5 separate regions of the Homo sapiens genome follow, and regions 2, 3, 4 and 5 are each linked to region 1. Evidence: promoter capture Hi-C in 16 types of primary human blood cells and fetal thymus (Javierre and others, 2016). All regions are on one chromosome and are shown on one strand. The core of a region is centred on a gene start or on the middle of the fragment in contact, and the rest is flanking DNA. Distances in the headings are between cores, read along the strand shown.

Region 1 (2,587 bases), core at 33-2,532:
GGTTTCCGCAGGCGTCTCCACACACGCACTCTCACTCACTTTGAGGGTGCCAAAACACCACTAGGGGCAACTAGGAGGAATAGGCTGAGGAATCAGCTATAGAGAATGGAGGGGATAGAGCTGCAAGGGGCGAGGGGGCGACGATCTCTAAAACTTTCAGCGCCGTGCTCTACTGATGCTCTAGGCACTTTTTTCATTGCTCTGGGGAGTCTGGGTGCCCCAATTAATCCGTCGCTCCTTTGAGCATTTGTTGTTTAGGGGGTCCTGGGGGACCCCATCGTATTACAGTATTCAGCCACACTCCCCGCAAAGCCGGGAAGCCGCCCCGAGAGAAGACCCCAGGACGCCGGGGGCTGCGTGAGCCCCGCAAGGCTGCAGGCGGGGGCGCGGGATCCCCTTTCTGGCCGCCGCCCCCCTCCGCCGGCCCCTCCCCCGCGCCCCGCCCTCGGCCACAGACCCCAGCCCCGGCCGCCGGCGCGCTCCCACCCGCGCGTCTGGGGACTTGCGGACCGCAGCGAGACCGGCCGGCGTGCTGGGCATGCTCAGTGGCGGGCCGGGCGCTGGAGTCGGAAGCCTGTGCGCGGCAGCCGCCGCCGAGCCGGCCGGGGCGCACGGAGAGCGCGCGGGACTCGCTGCAGCGGCGGCCGGGTCGCGGCGCACCCGGGCCGGGACCGGAGCCGAGCCTAGCGCGGCGCCCGCGACCCGTCAGCCGCGGCTCCTGCTCCCTCGATCCCGCGCGGGGAAAGGGCCGGCGGCTGTTGGCGTCGGCGGGGCGCGGAGGAACCGCGGCGGCGGCGGCGGCGGCCGCATCCTTGCCGCCCGCCCCGGCCCAGCCGCGTCCCGGAGCCGTCGGGCATGGAGCCGTGGAAGCAGTGCGCGCAGTGGCTCATCCATTGCAAGGTGCTGCCCACCAACCACCGGGTGACCTGGGACTCGGCTCAGGTGTTCGACCTTGCGCAGACCCTCCGCGATGGAGTCCTGCTCTGCCAGCTGCTTAACAACCTCCGGGCGCACTCCATCAACCTGAAGGAGATCAACCTGAGGCCGCAGATGTCCCAGGTGAGGAGGCCGGCACGGGCGCCCCGCCTCCAGCCGGCAGCTCCCATTAATCATGCGGCTAATTTCTTTGTGTAAATGCAAACGTCTAGGTGCGCTGAGCTTGCCCTGCTTCCCAGCCTTCTGCTTTGGGACCACTTCGGCACCACTTTGGCGTTTCCTACCTTGGCTTGAAATGGTTTAGCTCCTCAAGCTGAATGCGAAAGCTTTGCGTCCGGAGATGGTGTGAGGATTTCGTAAAGGCTTTCTGTGAGGCGGGAAAGAAATAAGTTGTCTTAGGGTGCCCTTCACCTACTCTGCGTGTGTGTGGCGCGACAAAGGGAATTTGATCAAGCTCTTCTATAATAACGAAGGGGAGGGACGAAACGAGGTGATGGGGTAATTTGCCTTTAGTCTCTTCTTTTGCTTTGCGTCTTGTACTCATGTTTTCCTAAAAGAGGAACCATGACATACATGAGGACTCGAGGAAGTGAAGGGCGTTTGGTCCCGTTATCTGTCCAGGAGTGACATTGGTCAAAGGGAAGAACAGGGAGCAGAACCCGGAGGCCGCCCCCAGGGCCCCTGAGCTGGTGGCCAGCCGGCAAGCTCCCGTTTACAGCTCTTCCTAAGCCATGTGAGAAGGAGCGAGTCCAGCCTCTCTCAGCAGCGACAGGAAATGAGAAGTTTCACTAGAGATTCCGCTTTCCTTCCTGCAGTGCCCTGCTCAGGTGCTGTGGTGCCGGTCGGCTCCTGGGGCTGGAGCTGCCTCTTTGAGGGTTAAGCCAGACACCTCTGGAAGGTTGGGTGCACCCTAGAGTCAGCTCAAAAGTCACAGTTCAGTGGAAGAGTAGTTTATTTGTCCTGTCGGAAAATTTTTGTACAGAAGGATGTTAAACTCGGTTCAGAGCCTCTTTCTCTTTCAGAATGTTAAAACAAAACAAAAAACCAAACTGCTTTCAACTTAAAAGGGAGAGGACAGAGCCCTCTCCCTGACACATTTCAGCACTAATCCTCTATGACGCAGAGCCTCAGCTACTTAGCAACCAGAGCAGCGCCTTTTAAGAAGGAACGGACTTTATATGATTTAATAAGTATGTATTTAAAGTTAGAGCACACACAGTCATCTGTGATTCTTGGTGTCAGTGTTTCATCAGGGTCCCCTGCACTTCAGATTCTGCATTCCTTGCCTGTTTGCCTTCAACCTGCTGGTGGGCAGTCCCTAAGAAAGAACAGGCATGGAAGTGGGGAGAGCCATACGTATTTAAAAGTGAGGTAAATTATTTTATACCCCCATAAACATGCATGGTGATTGCTACCTCTCGGTACCCCTTCAGAGTTGTCTCAACTCTGGAAATTCCTTTGAGGGGTTTGGCAGACTTTTCTATTATGGTGGGAGCTGCAGTTAGCTACTCTCACACATCCCCATTTTCCACTTTGCCTGTAGCCTCAGGAGGCAGCGTGGGTCAGGATGCCTTGGCCCACCAGTAGGGAGTACAGTACTGTGCACATTTCCTGGAACTTGTTTCCTGGAACTCTCAGCAGTTGCTCTCAA
Region 2 (2,587 bases), core at 50-2,549, 910 kb after region 1:
GCTATGAGGGAAAAGGGGGAGATATTCCCCCTACTTGCACGTGGGATCTCCCTTTCCCCTCCGACCTCGCTACGCCTCTCCCACGCAGGTCAGGCTGCTTTGGGAGGTAGCTGGGAGAAAAGGCAACGCTCAGTCCTCCATGGCAAAGTCTTTGGTCTTCTCCTCCTGGTCTCCCACTTTGTAGCGCAGCAGCACGCGCAGGCGACGGGGGTTGTCCCGGGAGGGCAGCAGCGTGATCTCTCCTGAAACGTCCGTGTCTTGCTCCACTTGCACCGGCTCGTTCAGGTAGAGGAGCGCCTGTTTCCAGTGAGTGGCCGGGTGAAAAGGCGAGGTGGACAGCACCAGGGGTTTCTCCGACTCCCCTCCAGGGAAGGTCACCTGGAACCAGATGGCAAAGCCATGCATGGGCGCCGAGCCATAGCAGCTGCAGCGGAAGCGCCCGCCCACTCCGGCCTCCAGCTCCTGCTCCAAGCCGGCGCGGGAGAGCTCTAGCTGAGCAAAGCGCTGCGGCCGGGCCAGCACGTCCTCGCCGGACAATCCCTGCACAACGATCTCCGAGTGGCCCATGAGACAGCGCGTGGCGAAGCCCTCCAGGCAGCTCATGTCCACACCATAGTGCTGCTTCACCTGGCTCCAGAAGCCCAGGCGCCATTCCAGCATCTGGTCGCTGATGGGGGCTATGAAGAGCTCGGCGGAGGCCGGCAGGAGAAGACCGCCCTCCTTCAGCCACTTGGTTCGCGCGTGGAGGACGGAGCTCAGCATGGACTCGTGCAGGAGTCCGTAGCCCATCCACTCGCTCACGATGGCATCCACCTGTTCCGGCAACTCTACAGTCTCCACTGGTCCCGGCAGGACGTGCACCCGGTCCTCCAGCCCGTTGAACCGCACCACCTCCCGGGCCTGTTGCCAGATGGCGCTGGCCTCTACCGCGTACACGCGCCGGGCCCCGGCCTGGGCACAGAAGATGCTCAGAATGCCGGTGCCCGCGCCCACGTCCAGTACCGTCTTGCCTCGCAGTGCTGCCCAGTTCCGAAGGATACCCAGGCGGTAGGCATCGGTGCGGACGCGGTCCGCGATCATCTCCTCGTGGACCGAAACGTCCGAGTAGCACTCGTAGTACAGCTGGTCCCGTTCCCGCTTAGTCCTCCGGGGTCGCTCCAGGGCCGCCTCCCGCTCCGCGCCATCTTCCTCTTCAGTTCCCTCCCCTCCTTCGCCGCCGCCCCCCGACTCAAGCTTTCTTTTCTTGGGCTGCGACATCTTGGCCGCTCTGCCCGGCTCCCGGCGGGCGTAGCGCGGCACGGCGCGGGCTCCAGGAAACGGGGGCTTCTGGGACTTGTAGTGCGCGCTCGTCCTTCCTACTTCCTGCGGGGTCGCCCGGCCGGCGGCGCGGAAGGTCTCCTGTGCCTGCTCACGGGAGCTGTTTTGTATTGCTCTTCTGGTGTCCTGGCATCCCTTTTCCCACCCACGACGCCCACATTCTGAGATCCTTTCATTCCCCCTCCCACCCTTAGCTCCTCAGTTTTTTGCTTTCACTCCCTTCCTGAAGTAGGCACGCACACTTAAGACTAATAATCCACCTTTGTTTCTTCTGCTGAACTCACCTCTGTTTTTTTTGTTTGTTTTTCTGTTTTTTGTTTTTTTTGAGAGGGAGTTTCGCTCTTGTTTCCCAGGCTGGAGTGCAATGGCGCGATCTCCGCTCACCGCAACCTCCGCCTCCTGGGTTCAAGCGATTCTCCTGCCTCAGCCTCCCGAGTTGCTGGGATTACGGGCGCATGCCACCAGGGCCGGCTAATTTTGTATTTTTGGTAGACGGGGTTTCTCCCTGTTGGTCAGGCTGGTCTCAAACTCGCGACCTCAGGTGATCCGCCCACCTCGGCCTCCCAAAGTGCTGGGATTACAAGCGTGAGCCACCGCGCCCGGCCTAACTCACCTCTGGTTTTATTCCACCGAATTAACATGGCAGCACCATCCACCCACTACCGCCTTAACTGGACAATTGTAGCTCTTAAAGTGCTCCAGCTGTGGCAATTTAGAAACTGCACTACGCATTTCTTTTTTCTGTTTTCAGTGCAGTTAGAGTGCAAATGTAACAAAATTAAAACCTAACAATGCAAAATCTTGGTTCTGATTCCAGTATGACCACTAATTAGTTGAGTGATTTAGGGCAAATAATAGAACTTCTCTGGCCTTTAGTTGCCCATTCACCCACCAGCGAATCTTCATTGCAGTTGGGGAAGAACTAGGTTTCTGGTTCTACTTAGAAGAATAGTTACTTGGCTTTCGGCTCTGCTCTGATAATTCTGTGGCTCTCTTAAGAGTTAAATCCTGAAAAGTGCAGACTCAAGAGCCATGTGATACAAGCAAACTCGTTGCTAGGTGTATTCTATATATATATGCGTTTTTTTCTCTCAGAAATAACGGAATCAATTTCTTTTAATCACTTTCTCAATGCAATTCATTTTTTCCTGTGTTTTCTTGTCCGGGCAATATTGACACTCTCCTCTTTCTCTTATATTTTTCTTGTAGTCAACCATCAGCTGTTACTCTCTTTTTGTTGTCCATAATGGAAATAAAATATGTTTTTAAA
Region 3 (2,587 bases), core at 42-2,541, 710 kb before region 1:
ATGGGGTATCCATCCCTTCAAGCATTTATCCTTTATGTTACAAACTATTTATTTATTTATTTATTTATTTATTTATTTATTCATTGAGACAGAGTCTGACTCTGTCACCCAGGCTGGAGTGCAGTGACATGATCTCAGCTTATTGCAACCTCTGCCTCCTGGGCTCAAGTGATTCTTGTGCCTCAGCCTCCCGAGTAGCAGGAATTACAGGTGTGTGCCACCACATCCGGCTAATTTTTGTATTTTTAGTAGAGATGGGGCTTTGCCATATTGGCCAGGCTGATCTCAAACTCCTGACCTCAAGTGATCTGCCCGCCTTGGCCTCTCAATGTGCTAGGATTACAGGCATGCGCCACCATGCCCAGCCATCCATTTATACTCTTAATTATTTTAAAATGTACATAGTATTAGTTCTTTAAATATTTGGTGGAATTCAGCAGTGAAGCCAGCAGGTCCTGGGCTTTTCTTTATTGGGAATTTTTTTTCTTTTTTTGTAGAAGGAAGGGCTTTATTCAGCTGGGAGCATCGGCAAGCTACTGCCTTAAAATCCGAGCTCCCCGAATGCACAATTTCTGTCCCTTTTTTTATTTTATTTTATTTTATTTTTATTGATAATTCTTGGGTGTTTCTCACAGAGGGGGATTTGGCAGGGTCATGGGACAATAGTGGAGGGAAGGTCAGCAGATAAACAAGTGAACAAAGGTCTCTGGTTTTCCTAGGTAGAGGACCCTGCGGCCTTCCGCAGTGTTTGTGTCCCTGATTACTTGAGATTAGGGAGTGGTGATGACTCTTAACGAGCATGCTGCCTTCAAGCATCTGTTTAACAAAGCACATCTTGCACCGCCCTTAATCCATTTAACCCTGAGTGGACACAGCACATGTTTCAGAGAGCACAGGGTTGGGGGTAAGGTCACAGATCTACAGGATCCCAAGGCAGAAGAATTTTTCTTAGTGCAGCACAAAATGAAAAGTCTCCCATGTCTACTTCTTTCTACACAGACACGGCAACCATCCGATTTCTCAATCTTTTCCCCACCTTTCCCCCCTTTCTATTCCACAAAACCGCCATTGTCATCATGGCCCATTCTCAATGAGCTGTTGGGCACACCTCCCAGACGGGGTGGTGGCCGGGCAGAGGGGCTCTTCACTTCCCAGTAGGGGCGGCCGGGCAGAGGCGCCCCTCACCTCCCGGACGGGGCGGCTGGCCGGGCGGGGGGCTGACCCCCCACCTCCCTCCCGGACGGGGCGGCTGGCCGGGCAGAGGGGCTCCTCACTTCCCAGTAGGGGCGGCCGGGCAGAGGCGCCCCTCACCTCCCGGACGGGGCGGCTGGCCGGGCGGGGGGCTGACCCCCTCACCTCCCTCCCGGATGGGGCGGCTGGCCGGGCGGGGGGCTGACCCCCCCCCACCTCCCTCCCGGACAGGGTGGCTGCCGGGCGGAGACGCTCCTCACTTCCCAGATGGGGTGGCTGCCGGGCAGAGAGGCTCCTCACTTCTCAGACGGGGCAGCTGCCGGGCGGAGGGGCTCCTCACTTCTCAGACGGGGTGGTTGCCAGGCAGAGGGTCTCCTCACTTCTCAGACGGGGCGGCCGGGCAGAGGCGCTCCTCACATCCCAGATGGGGTGGCGGGGCAGAGGCGCTCCCCACATCTCAGAGGATGGGCGGCCGGGCAGAGACGCTCCTCACTTCCTAGATGTGATGGCGGCCGGGCGGAGACGCTCCTCACTTTCCAGACTAGGCAGCCAGGCAGAGGGGCTCCTCACATCCCAGACGATGGGCGGCCAGGCAGAGACACTCCTCATCTCCCAGACGGGATGGTGGCCGGGCAGAGGCTGCAATCTCGGCAGTTTGGGATGCCAAGGCAGGCGGCTGGGAGGTGGAGGTTGTAGCCAGCCGAGATCACGCCACTGCACTCCAGCCTGGGCACCATTGAGCACTGAGTGAACGAGACTCCGTCTGCAATCCCGGCACCTCGGGAGGCCGAGGCTGGCGGATCACTCGCGGTTAGGGGCTGGAGACCGGCCCGGCCAACACAGCGAAACCCCGTCTCCACCAAAACCAGTCAGGCGTGGCGGCACGTGCCTGCAATCGCAGGCACTCGGCAGGCTGAGGCAGGAGAATCAGGCAGGGAGGTTGCAGTGAGCCGAGATGGCAGCAGTACAGTCCAGCTTCGGCTCCGCATGAGAGGGAGACCTTGGAAAGAGAGGGAGACCGTGGGGAGAGGGAGACGGAGAGGGAGAGGGAGAGGTAGAGGGAGAGCGGGAAACTTTTTATTACATCTTCGATCTCATTACTTGTTATTGATCTATTCAGGATTTGGATTTCTTCATGATTCAATCTTGGTGAGTCATGTCTAGGAATTATCCATACCTCTAGATTCTCTAGTTTATTGGCATATAGTTGCTAATAGTAGCCACTAATGATCCTTTGAATTTCTGTGGTATCAGTGGTAATGTCTCCTTTTTTGTCTCTGATTTTATTTGGGTCTTCTCCCTTTTTTTCTGTTAGTCTGGCTAAAGGTTTGCCAATTTTGTTTATCTTTTTAAAAAAAACCCAACTTTTGGTTTAGTTTATCTTTTGTATTGTTTT
Region 4 (2,587 bases), core at 39-2,538, 690 kb before region 1:
ACAGCGGTACCAGTTCGTTAAAAATTTAGTGGATCAACATGAGCCTAAGAAGGTAGGTATTTCTCTTTCCAAACATTTAATTATTAAGACTAGTAGACTAGTCATATGAGGTGTTTTGTCAAATGGATTAGTATGGAGAGACTTTTCACAGGGGTTATTGCAATAGGGAGAATGCCGTAACCACAAGATCTGCAGGTGTCTCAAGAGTTAAGCAAAAGGGGTTTTTCTTTTACTGGAGAAGTGAACAAAGCTAGAAACTAGGGAGGTGGGATGAGAGGGTGGTTTGAAAGGACAGTGGAATGGGGAGCCTTAAGGAGGGGGCTGTTTCCTCAGGCTGTAGTGCAGGGCCCTGGGGGAAGAAGTAAAGTTTGAATAAAGTATGGTTAAAAAAGGAATTTTCTTCCCATTGATCAGTGGGGACAAGTATTCATGATAATCATTTGAGGCAAAGAATGGAAACACAAGGAATCTTATCTAAGTTTTATGGAGGAGGGTGGTTTTTTGCAGTGAGCCCTTTCCTGGAACACAAAGCACAGGTGGATTCCTTTAGCAGATGCCAGAAACACAGGGCTCAGACAGAATTCAGCATTGTCAGGTTCAAATGTGAAGAAAATCTTAAGATTTTATAGTTGGATGTGATCTTGTAGGTACCGTACTTCTAGAGCATTTAGTTAGAATATCAGGCAAACTGGTATTGTAGCCACAGGTATTGTGGTTCTTTTAAAATTAGATGATAATGGGCCGGGTGCAATGGTTTACACCTGTAATTCCGGCACTTTGGGAGGCTGAGGCAGGTGGCTAGCTTGAGACCAGCCTGGCACCATAGTGAGACCCTGTGTCTACAAAAAATAAAATTAGCTGTGCATGGTGGTGCGTGCCTATAGTCCCAGTTACTCAGGAGGCTGAGGTGGGAGGATCCCTTGAGCCCAGGAGGTTGAGGCTGCAGTGAGCTGTTATCACCTGCATTCCAGCCTGGGCAACAGAGAAAGAGCCCGTCTCAAAAAGAAAATTAGATCATAATGAACCTACTCGGTTAACTTCAGAGTAAAGTCATAATTGCATATAATCTACATCCATCCATCCATACCTGGTTACTATACTAATGGATTGGATGTGAATTAGATGCGGGTAAGGTGAATTTCTAGATGAAAGCTTTCTTTTTCTGCTTGATGTTGAAGACTCAGTGAAGATTCCTGTGTGTGAAGGTTTCCCTTAACTCCACCACTACTGTTTCTACACTTGGACACAAAGGCGTAGGTATTAGTTTATATCTTTGTAGCCATCTAGGCATGTGTATTCAGGTAAAGCATCTAAAATTGGCTTTTTGGCAGCTCAGAGTTCAGTATGGAATTTCAGATGGTTTGAGGTAATTGTTTAATCAAATAAATGTGTGAGGGGTGAAAGCTAAGTTTTAGAAAGCTTTGTTTGCTGAAATATGCTGAGAATATTTGACTCCAAATTCTGATTCTGAATGGGAAAACTGTGTGTACGTAATTGTTTCTCATTAGTTCAATATAGACAATAACAGTTGTTCTGGAATAGGAATGGACCTTTCTATTTTAGTGTGATCAAATAGAAATTTGCCTATGGGCTTATAAAGTTTCAGGTTAGTGTGTGTGTGTGTGTGTGTGTGTGTGTGTGTGTGTGTGTGTGTAGCATCTTCTGCCAAAAAGATCCTTCCATATAATACTTTCATTATTTTATTACTGATATATACTCCACTCTCTCCTCCTCAAAAAAAAGTTTTTGATCATACTTCTCTTGCTATAAATGTCTTTGAAATAACATTCTGTCTCATCTACAGGTTGCAGACCTGGGATGTGGTGATACTTCACTCTTAAGGCTGCTAAAAGTCAATCCATGCATTGAATTGCTTGTTGGAGTAGATATTAATGAGGATAAATTACGATGGAGAGGGTAATACTTAGTTTCTGAAAGAATTATGCGTTAATCTAAAACTAATGGCATTATTGAGTTTAGAGAAAGTGTTGATTTTATATTTGTTTTAAAAGATTGGGGCCATTAGGGATCTTCAACTCACTGAATAATCAGGCTTTGCCATAACACTAAAAATACCTGCATTTTATTGCTACCAACTTAAAGAATAGCCTCAATTAAATGATTATAATAATCAAAGCATTGTAAATTAAAATTCAGATAGCAAAATCTCATCACTTTAATGCTGGACACTATGATAATTTATAGCAGAGGATTTAAAATGCCCCAGAACACTGAGGCCAAGGCTCCAGGCCACCGCCTGCATTTTGAACCATAGCATTTCTCCTATCTCTTGTATATATAGTATATATACATTAGATTTCCACAGATTGCTTCAAGAATATTCTTTTTCTAAAGAACAAAAATCTCAAAATCACTGAATCAAAGTAAGCTGGAAAACCAAAAGTATTACAAATGAAAACAATATAACAATATTAAATATTCAGTCTTTTTTTCATTGGCCAGTAACTTCCCACTGTGAGAGGAAGTTTCCCCATGACCTGGTCTTTAATATGTCAAGACAAGGAAAACAGGCTGTGTCAGACTTATATCAATAGAGGTAGAAGATAATTATCAGAGGATCTGAGTT
Region 5 (2,587 bases), core at 57-2,556, 600 kb before region 1:
CTGACAAATGGATGAGGTCATTCAACTGTTAGTAGTACTGAGGTAGTCTACTCACTATTTTACTCTCCTAAATGTTAGAACTTATTTGTTTTAATGTTATACTGAATAGAAACATGCCTTCTTTAACATCTCCCCACTGGTCCTAGTTCTGTCCTCAGCTGCACCCAGCATAGTCTATTCCTTCTTTATGGCACAATTTTTCAAATATCTTTCATTAGTTGATATGTGACTTTGAACAAATTATTTTCTAAGGATCAACTTTCTCATGTCTAAAAGAGTGGTATGACAGAGGCTAATTATCCTGATATCTGTCCTCTCCTCCCTTTATTCTAATTCAGTGTTTCGTTAGGCATACAGGCACCCAGCAAAAACTAAATTTCTCAACCTTGGGGCTGGATGTGGCATGGTGCTGATGTTCTGGTCAATGGACTGTGAGCACAAGGGACCTTCCCTTCCCCTCTCCTCCTTCCCAGTGGCTGGAATTCGGATGTGGGGTGAGCCAAGTCAGTCCCTGTGGATGAGAACAATACCCTGAGAGCAATAAGACAAAAAGAGTCCAGGCCCCTGACAACTGGACAGAGCACAGCTACCACACTAGGTTGGACTTCATATGAAAGAGAAGTAAACTTCTATCTTGGTTAAGCCAGTTATTTTTTAAAAATACCTTGTTATAGCACCTGACATCCATTCTAAATCAAAAACAGGTGACAATGGTTTCCTACTTCTATTAAAGGGGTTTTGTAAGAATCAAATAAAATTAGGAATGTAAAATATACATATATACAAGTCAATTTTTTAGTATTTGAAGACCATTATCTTCTCTCAAGACTAACCCCAGTCTCCTGTTATTAGCATAATTCAAGATTCTTAAGAATCCGAATATCTTCCTTGGACCTCCATTTGATAACCCTCAAAGGCCTGCACCCCAAACCGAACATAATTTTTTACAAGCTGTGTAGATAAAACATGATCTACTTCCCCATATATTTAATTTAGTGATCTCTGTATGTGTGTCATCTTTAGCAAAACTACAACAGATCTTTTCTCCCAATATTTGCTTTCTTTCAATATTTACAAAATGCTGGCTATGTAAGGCTCAGTGATACAGTGGTGAATATTAACTTACTGGTGTAAAATGGCATTAATACTATTTTTATAAGATATGACTATCCAATAATGTGACTAAATTTTGTGAACTTAGTTGTACAAAGCCACATCTTGAAAAAAAAAGTGGCATGAGTACCATTTTTCTTTTCTTTTGTTTTCTTTTCTTTTTTTTTGAGACAGAGTCCTGCTCCATCACCCATGCTGGAGTGCAGTGGTGTAATCATGGCTCATTGCAGCTTCAATCTCCCAAGCTCAAGAGATTCTCCCACCTCAGTCTCCCTGAGTAGCTGGGAACACAGGTGCATGCCACGAAACCCAGCTAATTTTTAAATTTTCTTCAAAGACAGGGTCTCACTATGTTGCCCAGGCTGTTCTTGAATTTCTGGGCTCAAGCCACCCTCCTGCTTCAGTCTTCCAAAGTGCTGGGATTACAGGCATGAGCCCATAAAAATGCCTCGCTGCATTTTACTTATCTTTCATATACAATTGCCTCAGGGAAAATCTAAAGGGGCCAGGTCTTGTAACCTGTTTAGTGATGTCACATATTGGAACCAGTTTTCTGAAACTGACATTCAGAAAAAGTTATACTACATATATTTACCTACCATTTTTATAAAACATAAAAATGAGAAAGCATACAACACAAAGCCTGAAAGGCAGTAGAATTTAGTGATTAACAGTGGTCCTTGGAGCTAGAATGCCTCCTAGCTCTACCACTTACTAGCTGAGTAACTTTTAGCATCTCTTTGTGCTTCTGTTTCCCCAGGTATAAAATGAGAGTAATAGCAGCAATAATGGCAAGGGCACTAATAATGGTAATGACGTAATAATAGCACCTTCCTCACGGGAATATCTTGAAGATTAAATGTAAAGGCTTAGAAAAGTTCCTGACGCACTGGGAAAGTGCTCAAATAAATGTCAGCTACTATTATTACAGGTATTATAATAATGTGAATTGATGACTCCATTTCTGGTCAGGGTATAAGGAATTTTTTAATTAAAAAATTTTTTATTTTAATTACTTAACTATATTAAAATATAGTTGACAAAAATTGTATATACTTACTGTGTACTATGTAATGTTTTGATATGTGTATATATTGTGAAATTGCTAAACCAAGCCAATTAACATAGCCATCAACTCACATATTTATTTTTTTTGCTGTTGGAGAACACTTATGATCTATTCTCTTAGCAATTTTCAAGTATAATACATTATTATTAACTATAGTCAGCATTCTGTACAACAGATCTGAACATATCCATGCCACCTAATTGAAACTTTGTGCCCTATGACCAACAGTTCCCCATCTCTCCGTGCCCTCACCCACTATGAGTTCACCTTTTTTATATCCCACATATATGTGAGATGATGCAGTATTTGCCTTTCTGTGCCTGGCTTATTTCATTTTAAACAAAAGTCCTCCAGGTTCATCCATGTTGTCACAAATGACAGGATTTCCTTTTTTTTTTTTAAAAG

The links. The method cuts DNA at HindIII sites, captures the fragments that hold promoters and counts their contacts. A CHiCAGO score of 5 or more calls a contact.
Region 2: a contact is called between the fragment with the promoter of PRMT6 here and the fragment with the promoter of VAV3-AS1 in region 1, in 1 of 17 cell types (fetal thymus). The highest score is 9.1, in fetal thymus.
Region 3: a fragment that was not itself captured here is called in contact with the fragment with the promoter of VAV3-AS1 in region 1 in 1 of 17 cell types (neutrophils); the score reaches 5.6 in neutrophils.
Region 4: a fragment that was not itself captured here is called in contact with the fragment with the promoter of VAV3-AS1 in region 1 in 2 of 17 cell types (M0 macrophages and activated CD4 T cells); the score reaches 6.7 in M0 macrophages.
Region 5: a fragment that was not itself captured here is called in contact with the fragment with the promoter of VAV3-AS1 in region 1 in 1 of 17 cell types (neutrophils); the score reaches 7.6 in neutrophils.

Annotation. Positions count from the first base shown.
Region 1 is chr1:107,963,138-107,965,724 of GRCh38, reverse strand. It overlaps VAV3-AS1 (VAV3 antisense RNA 1), which reads right to left and starts at 1,282. Exons shown (of 3, transcript NR_046653.1): 1 at 1,221-1,282. It overlaps VAV3 (vav guanine nucleotide exchange factor 3), which reads left to right and starts at 545. Exons shown (of 27, transcript NM_006113.5): 1 at 545-1,059. The coding sequence starts at 856. RefSeq lists enhancers at 1-58, 1,405-1,534. The HindIII fragment of the contact is 9,456 bases long and covers 1,265-2,587 here.
Region 2 is chr1:107,055,386-107,057,972 of GRCh38, reverse strand. PRMT6 (protein arginine methyltransferase 6) reads right to left here and starts at 1,299. Exons shown (of 1, transcript NM_018137.3): 1 at 1-1,299. The coding sequence starts at 1,257. The coding sequence ends at 130. RefSeq lists enhancers at 498-707, 718-847, 858-997, 1,018-1,067. The HindIII fragment of the contact is 2,330 bases long and covers 1,236-2,587 here.
Region 3 is chr1:108,674,717-108,677,303 of GRCh38, reverse strand. No RefSeq gene overlaps it. Among named protein-coding and RNA genes, the nearest start is that of HENMT1, 15 kb to the right of the region's middle. The HindIII fragment of the contact is 9,896 bases long and covers 1-2,587 here.
Region 4 is chr1:108,654,916-108,657,502 of GRCh38, reverse strand. It overlaps HENMT1 (HEN methyltransferase 1), which reads left to right. Exons shown (of 8, transcript NM_001102592.2): 3 at 1-52; 4 at 1,805-1,917. Among named protein-coding and RNA genes, the nearest start is that of HENMT1, 4.9 kb to the left of the region's middle. The HindIII fragment of the contact is 267 bases long and covers 1,155-1,421 here.
Region 5 is chr1:108,566,692-108,569,278 of GRCh38, reverse strand. The region is part of intron 1 of EEIG2 (EEIG family member 2); the gene reads right to left. Among named protein-coding and RNA genes, the nearest start is that of EEIG2, 7.9 kb to the right of the region's middle. RefSeq lists a silencer at 239-454. The HindIII fragment of the contact is 3,399 bases long and covers 1-2,587 here.